Regions from separate parts of the Homo sapiens genome. Here region 1 is linked to region 2. The links are contacts of gene promoters, found by promoter capture Hi-C in blood cells and fetal thymus (Javierre and others, 2016). All regions are on one chromosome and are shown on one strand. The core of a region is centred on a gene start or on the middle of the fragment in contact, and the rest is flanking DNA. Distances in the headings are between cores, read along the strand shown.

The links. The method cuts DNA at HindIII sites, captures the fragments that hold promoters and counts their contacts. A CHiCAGO score of 5 or more calls a contact.
Region 1: a fragment that was not itself captured here is called in contact with the fragment with the promoter of LINC02902 in region 2 in 1 of 17 cell types (naive B cells); the score reaches 5.3 in naive B cells.

What each region holds. Positions count from the first base shown.
Region 1 is chr7:50,407,988-50,413,814 of GRCh38, reverse strand. No RefSeq gene overlaps it. Among named protein-coding and RNA genes, the nearest start is that of FIGNL1, 39 kb to the left of the region's middle. RefSeq lists enhancers at 2,164-2,243, 2,744-2,803, 3,479-3,979. The HindIII fragment of the contact is 2,875 bases long and covers 2,659-5,533 here.
Region 2 is chr7:47,653,894-47,659,463 of GRCh38, reverse strand. It overlaps LINC02902 (long intergenic non-protein coding RNA 2902), which reads right to left and starts at 4,220. Exons shown (of 3, transcript NR_171030.1): 1 at 4,116-4,220; 2 at 708-771; 3 at 1-557. The HindIII fragment of the contact is 4,908 bases long and covers 1,872-5,570 here.

The sequences.
Region 1 (5,827 bases), core at 2,847-5,346, 2.8 Mb before region 2:
GATAGAGGCTCCCACCAAGCCAGTTCCACTCTCAGGGCAAGGGTAATTTCCAGAAGTCAGGAGACAGCTTGCGTGATGACCTTGGAGCAGGTTCTGGGCCACCCTGCTTCACCCTGGGATGGCGTAACTGTGGCCAAGTCACCGTGTGAGCCGAGCCTGTGCCTTCATCCATGATCCAGGGCCTGGTACTGCAGGGAACGAAGGGAGCGGCAGTGCTGGGTACATTAGCAACCCGAGGGCATCAGGTCAGGAACACGGCCAGGCCAGGGAAGAGCCAGGGACAGGCTGGCTGTGGTCCCTCCCTAGCTCTCGGTGTTCCCCCAGGACCCCATTTCCTACAGTGTTTCCCTTCCTACAGTGACATGCGTATTAATGGTAATGTTGAAGAGGGGAGGTGGAACATTTTTAGTTTAACTATATTTGTGGAAAGCTGGATTAAATAAACCATCTTCTATTCTGCCCAGGGCATTTCAAATGCTAAGGCACATTGTGGATCTCCAAAAGAGGGAAGAGTGTGTGGCTTTTCCCAAATCGTTTGCCCCATTCTCCTTTTTTGCATTATGCATAATGGGCTTTAGGAAATGTGGCTTGAGGGTGACTCCCTATGACCTTGAAAACGGCTCTCTGCTTCCTTGGCCTTAGTTTCACTACCTGAAATTGGTGCTCACACCCCTCTCCGCCCTTCCTCAGGGGGCCCATGCATTCATGACAGCCCTGCAGCTTCAAGGTCAGGACAGGGGCTCAGCTCCTGCTGCCTTCCCCAACCCTCAGAGGGCACCTCTTTGGCTGAATGGTGGACCCCTTCTCTCCAGGCGTCTGGCACTCCCCAGCCCCCAGGACACTCCTCCAGCCCAGCCACACGGCCTTGCCTTCCTTCAGCACTATTCCGTGTCCAGGCCTCTGTACCGCATTCACGCTGCCCCCTCTGCCTGAAACTGTCTGCTGCCTTTCTTTGCCCAAATAACTCCTGTCTTTCAGTTCAACTACATCCTTACTGATTTTCTGCCTGCTGGATCTGTCCATTTCTGATGGGGAATGTTGGAGTCTCCAGCTCTAGGAGTGGGTTCATTGATTTCTGTGTGGTTCTCTCCGCTTTTGCCTCATGTATGCTGGTGCTCTGTTGTTAGGCATGCACATGCTAAGGATTGTTACATCTTGTTGGAAAATTGACCCCCGTGTCATTATAGAATGCCCCCATTTACCCTGATGCCTTTGCTTGCTGTGACTCTGCTGTGTCTGAAATCAATCAGTATAGCTACTCCAGGTTTCTTTTGATAGTGTAACTATGGTATTTTTTCCTTAATTTCTTTACTTTTAATCCTTATGTGTCTTTATACTTAAAATGGATTTATTTTTTCCTTTTTTTATTTTTTTGAGACGGAGTCTCACTCTGTCGTCTAGGCTGGAGTGCAGTGGCGCGATCTCAGCTCACTGCAACCTCCACCTCCCGGGTTCAAGCGATTCTCCTGCCTCAGCCTCCTGAGTAGCTGGGATTACAGGCGTGTGCCACCATGTCTGGCTAAGTTTTGTATTTTTAGTAGAGACGGGGTTTCACCATGTTGGTCAGGCTGGTCTTGAACTCCTGACCTCGTGATCCACCCGCCTCAGCCTCCCAAAGTGCTGGGATTACAGGCATGAAAAATGGATTTCTTATAGACAACATCTAGTTGGGTCACATCTTTGGATCCACTGAAACTCTATCTTTCAACTGCTGTCCTTAGACTATTGATGTTTAAAGAGATTATGGGTACATTTGGATTCATGTTGATTACATTTGTAACTGTTCTCTATTCTATGTGTGGGCCTTTTTGTTTTGTTTTGTGTTTGTCTTCCACTCTTCTTGCCTTCTTTGCTTTGAGTATTTTGTATAATTCAATTTGTCCCCTCTCTGCCTTCTCTTTTTCAAGATTCAGCTGAGGTGCACTTGGTCCCATGGGTCCTGTGTACCTTTGGGTCCTGGGTGTCTGTGTCGGCAGCACAGAGCTTGTCTGTGGACAGTCTTGCCTGACGGTTGCCCATTTCACCCGCAGCTCCTCCAGGGTGGTGGCCTTACATTCTCAAGTCTCTGACCCTGGCTCCTGGTCCTGGGATGACAAGGTCAGGCCTAGTCAATGCTGGTGGGACAGGACAGAACTATGTATATAGGGCGGCACTTGAATGAGCATTAACACAAACACACATTCATAGTACTAAAAGCATGTTTACATTGGAAAATAAAAAGCCCCAGAAGCTTTCTTGAGGGAAATCCCCTCTCCCCCACGCCGACTGCTGCACAGCTGAACTCCTCCATGACCAAAGGGGGCTCTTCCGGCCTTCCCTGCCCCACAGCCCTTCTCTAGATTCAGCCAATTCACCTCAGGGCCAGAGGCTCTGCCTGTCCCCTGGAGGAGTTCTTTGTCCAAAAGAAGGGCCTGAATGCTAAGATGAGGAGAGTACCCTCCTGGAGCACCCAGGAAGCCCAGGGGTCAGCACGCTATTGCGTCTGGCCCTTTCTCTGGGAGTAGGGGAGGAGGGCAGTTGATGTTGGCTGTGGAGCAAGTAGAAAGATGGCCAGAGCTTCAAAGGGAAAGCCATGGGCCTCAGGCCCACGTCATTGACTGGGGCAAGATAAGACCTCAGGGAGTCCAGGGCTCTGGGAAGGAATCTCCAGCAGAAGCTTCTTTCTGTTGTTATTGGAGGCTCAGGATGTGTGAGACCAGCCTCTGCCCTCCACAGGCTCACAGTCCAATGGAGGAGGTGGACATCCCATACACTGCGGGGTGAGAGCCCTAAGACGGCTGACATGAGGGCTTGAGGAATTCAGAGACCAGATCTTGAGAAAGCTCCAAAAATTAGGTGCAATAAGTTCTGCCTTGTCCCAGAAGAACTCAGCAGGCAGCCAAGCATGGGAAGACTTCCCAGGACCAGCAGGGCCCTGTGATGCGAGGAAACCTGGGAATCGGGTGTGATTTGGAGGTTGGGAGGAGGCTGGGGGATCATCTGGGGTCACATCTCACTGAGGATGGATGCCTTCCTGAAGATGAGATCTGACCTGGGAGACCAGCTGACCAGCTTCCCTCAGCTCTTGGGGTCCCTGCCTCCATGCTTGTCAGCTTTAATTTCCCATCAGTGCACGAAAACACACAACCATTCTCCCATGGGGTGGTATGAGAGACCAACTTAAAAAAGGAATCGTGGTGCTCACAGAGGTGGGAAGTGGGTGTGGGCAGAGGGGATTTACAGAGGATTTTGCAAGGGGCAGTGCCCACTGAGGGTGGGGATCAGGGCAGTGCCCAGAGGGAGGAGGTCCCTGAAAGGGGAATCAAATTGAGGGACCCTGAAACTGCACACCCTCCTTACTGTGGGGCCCAGCCCACCCTCTACCCACAGGAAGCTGGAGGGAGAATGACAATGAGGAAGCTCGCGCAGGTGCCTGGGGAGGAACAGCACCGTGAGACGGTGGCGGAGAGGAGGCCGCAGCCACTGAGGCCTTCTGGGAACCTGGGATCACATGTGGTCGCAACCACAGAGAGAGGTCTTAGGGTGGCCTTGTTCAGGAGAGGCCCATATGCATGTGCATGGTACCTCCTCAGGCCCAGGGGGGTAGCAAAGCAGAGAGAGAAGCCAGGGCTGACTCATGGGCAGAGAAACAGAAACATTGGGACAATTCACACACTCAACGTCACAACTAGTTGGTTTGACAAAACATGGGAAAGAAGAAGTGAAATTTGTTAACTGTATCGAGATCCATGCAGTTCACTTCAGGGGACAGTTTTGGTACCAAATTATCCTTATTATGCAAATTCCCTCCCCCAGCAGGTTCCAGTTGTGCCCGGGGACCCATGGCGGGTGCATCTGCTTCCCATAGTTCCGATTCACCGAGTTGCCAGGGCCCATCTGCTCAGCCCAGGCCCAGGGCCTGCGGCCAGGGAGGAGGGGGCGTGGGCAGGGGCCAGGCTGTTGCTCCAGGACCTGCAGGGCCACTCCTGGAGCTGGAAGGTGATGCAGCCTGCCTTGAGAAGCCCAGATCCCAGACGTGGACAGGAGACAGAGTTCTAGGGATGTCTGCCTTGTTCCTGTCTTGGCCATGTCAAAAAGCAGAAAAAGCAAGGGAGTATCCCCATGAGGCTCTTACCTTTCTCCTTAGAAAAGTGCAGCCAAGAACTTGGCCTTTCCAAAGCATCGGCCTCCATGAGGCCTGGGCTGCATTGCAGGGTCCTGTCTTCTTTGCCGGCTGCTCTCCAGAGCCCATCTCTGCCCACCCTTGCAGTCCACTGTCACCCACCACTTGAAGGTCATTGCCAGCATCCTAAACACTTGACTCAGTGGTCTCATCTCTGCCCCCTTCCTTATTGCATTGGCTTTGTTGAACCTATTTGTGGGCCTCTTCTTTTGAATTAAAAAAACAATTCTGAGATGCTGTCCCCAATGAGTTTTCCTATCTGGAAAAGCCCCTCTTATTTCCTTTGCCTAATTCCTCCTGCTTCTCCTCTCCCCACGCTCCCCAGAACCATCCCCTACCCTCCACCTCTTTCCTGAGGCGACATGTACCTGTCACAGCTCCCATTATAGTAGCCTATGCCTCATGACTCCCAAATGCATTGGCCATCCATGGGGACCCGGCTGTCCCACCCATGCTTACACAAAGCCAAGTTCCCCTCCTCCAATCCTCTGCCCATTTTCCCTTTTCTCAGTAATGGCTCATATAGGCTCTGAGACTGGGTTTCACCTCCTTACCTCTCGTCAAAGCACAATAGATTTAATTATCTTAAAAAGATGTTATGCAACAAATATTTATTGAGCATCTAATATGTTCCAGGTACTCTTTTTGACACTGAGGATATGGCATTAAATAAATACAAAAAATCCCTGCTCTTGGAGCCTGCGTTCTAGTGGCAGAGTCCAGTCCTCTCTTCTCTGCTTCTCTCCTCTCCTGACTTCTGCTGGTTAGTGTCAGCATCCTTGCTGTGGGTAAAGCCTCTCTTCTGCCTGGATGGCATGGCCCCCTTCACTGTCTCCAGAGTTCTCATTGCATCACCCCCTCCCCCTCACCTCCTAAGACTCCTGGATGCCTCCCTATCCACCTGTTCAAACTCCTCCTATCCTCAGTCTACATTTCTGAATTTATCTCCTATTTTTTTCCCCTTGAGTACTCTTTCCCAGACAAACAGGGCTATTGCTGTTGGACTTCTGGTTCTGACATACAACAGATTTCATTCACATTTGTTCTGTCTTGAATGCCCTTCTTACACCCCCAATCCTCTGCTTCCAACATCAAAATCCCAATCATTCCGAAAAGCTGGGATCAGACAAGATCTCTTCCAGGAAGCCTTCTGTAATCCTCAAGTGAGAAGTGATGTTTCCTTCCACTGGGCTTTTACAGCACTTTAGAGCGCTTTTCATTGCACCTTGTTTTGTAATCACCTTTGTGCTGGGTCATTTCTCCCTGTGCTTTCTAGAGTGCAGGCACAGGAGTCAGGTGCTCAGGGACAAGTGCTGGTCCTAGTATTTCCAGCTGTGTGACCCCAGGCAGGTTACTCAGCTTTTCCAAGCTTCGAAGTCCTCATCTGCAGAACTGGAGGTGACAATGGTACTTGTAGAGACAGACAGGGAGTACACATGGCACAAGCAGGTGGTTACAGCGCCCAACCCCTGTGATGCTGTGAGCCTTGATCCCAGCACATAGCCAGGCACTGAAGGCTGAGGAGCGATGTGATGTGAGTGGGTCAAGTCATTATGTGATGTCAGGAGTGTCTCTTTTATCAAGAAGATATTGATTTACTTTATTTCCAACTTCCCAGTCTCTGCTTTGCAGCTCAAGTTATTCAACAAACCAATGAAGGATCTT
Region 2 (5,570 bases), core at 2,971-5,470:
CCCTCACCCAGCACAGCTAGAAAGCTGTCCCCACCCAGAGGACGGGGATGCCCAGAGTGCCTGGAGGATGTAGACCGTGGAGGATCTGAGCCCACTCACCCGGAGTGACACCTGGGCTTCTGCAGAGCCAGTCAGGACATCAGGACACTACGTTGAGTTTCTGGGATCTGGTGGGGAAGCATGGGCATCCCACTCAAGAGATTTCAATGCAGCTCCACACCTCTGGCCATGAGCCCTAGTTCCTGCCTTCCCTCTCAGGGGTCCCCTTTCCTTTTTTGCAGCTCACAATGAGTATCCAGGCCTGAGCATCCTTCCAGGGGTCAGTGAAACCATTTATGTATAGCACCTTGCACCGTGCCCAGCTGAGCCAGTGAGATCCAGTGTCTTCCAAGCCACCAGCCTTCTCTAGGGTGATTCCACATGAATTCTGGGCAGGTCCAGCCTCACTGATTGCCTTGAACAGAAATAGCAGCTCCCTGCTTCCCCAGCAGGCTCTGAACACTTCTCTGCATTTTTTAAATGCTGCAGGCACTCCTCTGAAAGACTCAGCATCAGCTCTGTGTAAAGCAAGAGGGGTTTTAGTAAATCCCGAACCACTCAATACCCTCTCCAGGATATATCCTCCACCCACCATGGAATTTACAAATGAGTAACAAGTAAGAAGGTGTGCTGGCTTAGGGGCACCCAGCCCTGAACTCAAATATTACCTCTTTGGTGAATAGCTGTGTGGCCTGGGCAAGTTGCTTAACTTCTCTGAAGTTGTTTCCTTACCTGCACAATAAGAGCAGGCATTTAGGAGAAGGTTAAACTGAATAGCATCCATGAAAGTACTAGGTATACTTCCTGGTGACTATGAGCTTCCTTTTCCTAAGAGCACGGGAACTTTTCCTGTAATCTAGAAATGGGAATATCTGAGGTAACTCAGGTGGGGATTCTAATTTCCATTCAGCCATGGAGGGTGCATCAATGGCCTGGAACAAAGCCACCCATTCACCAGCCACATTTGGGGGAACCTCCCTTGTACCAACCCATAGATAAGGCACTGGGAATGTAAACATGAATATGGCTTCTGCTCTCGGGTAGCTGTCATTGTGGGGGTCTGGGATTGGGGTACATACAAAAGGGTAAAAACCAACTAGAACACAAGGAGATAAGTGCAGCAACTGCCATACTCATCTAGTGCTTACCCTGTGTCAAGTGTTAAATACTTCCCACATTTCCATTCAATGAATGATCACACATCCCTACAAGGAACTCAGATATTAACCCCATATTTTTTTTTAAGACAGAATCTCACTCTGTCACCCAGGCTGGGGTGCAATGGTGCGATCTTGGCTCACTGCAATCTCCGCCTCCCGGGTTCAAGCAATTCTGCTGCCTCAGCCTCCCGAGTAGCTGGGACTACAGGCATGCACCGCCACGCCCAGCTGATTTTTGTATTTTTAGCAGAGACGGGGTTTCACCATGTTGGCCAGGATGGTCTCCATCTCCTCACCTCGTGATCTGCCTGCCACGGCCTTCCAAAGTGCTGGGATTACAGGCATGAGCCACGCACCCAGCCATTAACCCCATTTTAAGGATAAGAAGAGTGAGGCACAGAGATGTTCCAATTTTGACAGCTACAGAGCGGCAGAGTAAGATATAGACCCAGGCCGTCCCGCACCCAGTTCATGCCCTTGACCACTTGTACCAAAGACACTTGACTAATTCAATCAGCAAGTACACAGGCCTCCAGAGGAGGGAAGTTTAATTCTATGTAGAATCCTGCAGGCTGAGTTCGGGAGTAAATAAGGCCTTGATGCACAGAGAAGGTGGGAGAGGCATTCCAGAGAGAAGGCACAGGTTGAGCGAAGATGCAATGGCAAGAAGCTTGAAGGCCAAAGGTCACATAGAGGGACAGTCCCGGAGGGGATGTGAGGAAGTCAGGACAGGGACAAAATGGGAATGGAGGCCTCCAAAGTCCCACTCACTTCATTACAGGAGAATCTAATTACGCTATTCATAGATGGGAAAAGGCAGCCAGGCAGCAGAGCAGCAGCGCCAAAGGAACAGAGGAGATCAAGGGGAAGGTGTCCGTGTCTGCAAGATGAGGTGCTCAGAGCAGGGGGTGCAGGGCTAGCTGGGAGACGCGTCTGGAAGGGCAGTGGGTGAGGGCCAGAAGTGGCTACATCTTGGAGGTCACGGGGAGCCCTTGACATACCCCCAACACCACCTACCAAGACTGACACTGTCAGGTGTGTGGCAAGCAGCATGCACAGTGGGCTACTGTGAAAAGACGCATGTGCTCAAGTGCATGTGTGTACAGAAAGAGACGTCCAAGGGTATCAACAACACCTTAGTGAGAATATCTTGAGGCTCTTGAGACAGGTTGACCATTTTCTTTCTTTTTTTTGCGGGGGGGGACGGAGTCTTGCTCTGTTGCCCAGGCTGGAGTGCAGTGGCACGATCTCCACTCACTGCCACCTCCGCCTCCTGGGTTCACGACATTCTCCTGCCTCAGCCTCCGGAGTAGCTGGGACTACAGGCGCCCACTACCACGCCCGGCTAATTTTTTATATTTTTAGTAGAGACGGGATTTCACCGTGTTAGCCAGGATGGTCTCGATCTCCTCACCTCGTGATCCACCTGCCTCGGCCTCCCAAGGCCCTGGGATTACAGGCGTGAGCCATCACGCCCGGCCATTTTCTGATACTTTTCTTAAGGCTTGCTAGTACCTTCAGGCTGCTGTAACAAAGTACCATGGACTGGATGGCTCGCACACAACAGAAATTTATTTCTTGCAGTTCTAGTGGCTGAAAGTCCAAGATTAAGGTGCCAGGACATTCGCTGTCTGGGGAGGGCCCACTTTCTCGTTCATTGATGATGCCATCTCCCTGTGTCTTCACATGACAGAAGGGGTGAGTGAGCTCTAAGAGCACTTATCCCATCACGCAAGTCGAGCACTGAGAAGCTATGCAGTCCCTGAAGGCCCACTCCTGGACAGAAATCTCCGTGTTTCTCTTTGTTCTGGTCTTGACTGAATCTAAACAAGTGAAAGGCAGTTCTTGAGCCTGTGTAACCCCCTAACCTGGCCCAAGTTCCAAACACACCTGGATCTTCGCCTTTTTCATCTGTTAATTGTGGCCAATAAAAATACCTTCCTTGGCCGGACGCGGTGGCTCACGCCTGTAATCCCGGCACTTTGGGAGGCCGAGGCGGGCGGATCATGAGGTCAGGAGATCGAGACCATCCTGGCTAACACGATGAAACCCCATCTCTACTAAAAATACAAAAAATTAGCCGGGCGTGGTGGTGGGCACCTGTAGTCCCAGCTACTCGGGAGGCTGAGGCAGGAGAATGGTGTGAACCCGGGAGGCGGAGGTTGCAGTGAGCCGAGATCGCGCCGCTGCACTCCAGCCTGGGCTACAGAGCGAGACTCCGTCTCAAAAGAAAAAAAAAAACTTCCTCCCAGGTTTTAGTCGTTTTTTCCCCGGCACCCCTGCTTGCCACGTGGTAAATGTTCAATACAACTAATATCAATAATGACTCAAGTTTATTGATTACCACCTCTCTCTTTCCTCCATGGAGTGCTTACTGGGAGGATGGAGTCTCTTGGGGTGCGTGGCTTTCCCATACATCAGCATCAGCCATCGCGAGACCCCACGGGCCAGCAGTGTGGACGGGGAGACAAGTGAGGCCTCCCAGCCAGAACAGCTCAGCCTGCCAGGAGAAGCAGAAACCCCCCAAAGTAATCACTTCTCGAGTGCCTTCGAGACCCCAGATGTTGGGAAAACAACTATTTTCCCTTGTGTAAGACATGGCCAGTTTCTTTCCATCTCCTAAACAAATCAAATACAACCCTGAGCCCTCCTCCTTCCAGCCTGGCAGAAAATCCAGCCTTGACATTCTGTGGACTCTCTCTGCCCCACAGGGAGTTACCAAAGCCCTGGGAGCTTTTTCAAATTTTGATGGATAGCAAACATTTTAAAAAAAGACAAAAAATCAAATTATCATGAAGTGGACACGCCCATGTAACCACTTCCCAGGTCCAGAAAGAACAACAGTCATCCAGGACCACCCCCACATCCCTCCCAGCATCCACACCTCCCAGGCCCCACAAAGACCACTGTCCTGACCGCTGCCTCCCTCCCTGGGGCCCGGCCAGAGCCGTCTTCCTTCTGTTGACTCTGTTGGTGCCATCCTCATCCCACTGCCCGGGTGACTCGTCTGCCAAATGCAAGAATCGAATGGGGAGAGGAGTCTAGCGTACCCCCTGAACCCTGAGCCCCAAAGCAGGAGTTTTAGCCACATAGCTTTGGGTTTTCCCAGGATCCCTCGGGTGCCTGGGGCGCAGGATGCCAGGGTATAGGAGCTCTGCTCTCATGACGGGTGAATCCCCTGGTTCTCCTGTAAGTGCAGAGATGCTAGGGTAGTTCCCACACTCAAATATTCCCCGAGCCAGGGCTGGGCGCCTGTGGGAATCCCAGCAATCCTACAGTTTCACTGAAGTCCTATAATTTCCCGTACCCTGCCTCTATTTCAGGGACCTGCTGCTCAGAATGTGGAAATGCAGATGTGGTTTGCTTGTGTTGCCATTGTTCTCGTGAGCTGTAAGGCAGTGATTACAGGCTCCGTGGGCGGCAGGGAGCAGCCAACTGGATTGACGGCACATTCTTAGCTTATTTTAAAATCAGTAACAGCATTAATAAAAATCCTGTGCCTTCCCATTTACTTTTTCTTCCAAAAGAAAAAATACTGTACTTCCTAGCAGTCTGTGGCTGGAGTGGGAAGAAAGGAGAAATCATTTGAAAGTGTGAGGAATATCAGAGGAAATTTTAGAAAGGACCCTAGGCCATCTCTAGCTTTCTCATAGCAGTGACCCTGTTCCTCCCCCCAGATTGGGACACTTTAATTTTTTTTTTTTTTTTCAAGACAAAGGAGTCTCGCTCTGTTGCCCAGGCTGGAGTACAGTGGTGTGATCTCGGCTCATTGCAACCTCCACCTCCCAGGTTCAAGCAATTCTTGTGTCTCAGCCTCCTGAGTAGCTGGGATTACAGGTGTGTGCCAGGACACCCAGCTAAGTTTTTGGTATTTTTAGTAGAGAAAGGGTTTCACTGTGTTGGCCAGCCTGGTCTCGAACCTGTAACTTCAAGTGGTCAGCCCACCTCGGCCTACCAAAGTGCTGGGATTACATGCGTGAGCCACCGGCCCGGATGATTCACTTCTTAATAAATCATCCAACCCAATGATTTGGTTCCAAAAGAAACAGATAACATTCAAACACTGTTTCCTCTAGTTCATACTGTAAGACAATGTATTTTAGATACATTTTGCTTGAAATCCACAAACTTGTCAAATACCCACCTGGGTAGAGGAGGACAGCAGAACTGAAGGGCAAGAGGGCTCAGCCAGACTTCCCTCCCCGAGCTCCCGGGAGAAGGTTAATCACTTCGATCTAAACCAGGCAGGGCAGAGACCTAGGAGGCAGGAAGTCAGTTTAAAGGATGTGACATTGGCATTTGCCCAGCGGGTGATGGGAGAGGGAGGTTGAGGTCGTAACACTTCATTTTCATTCTGCATCTTACAAAGAC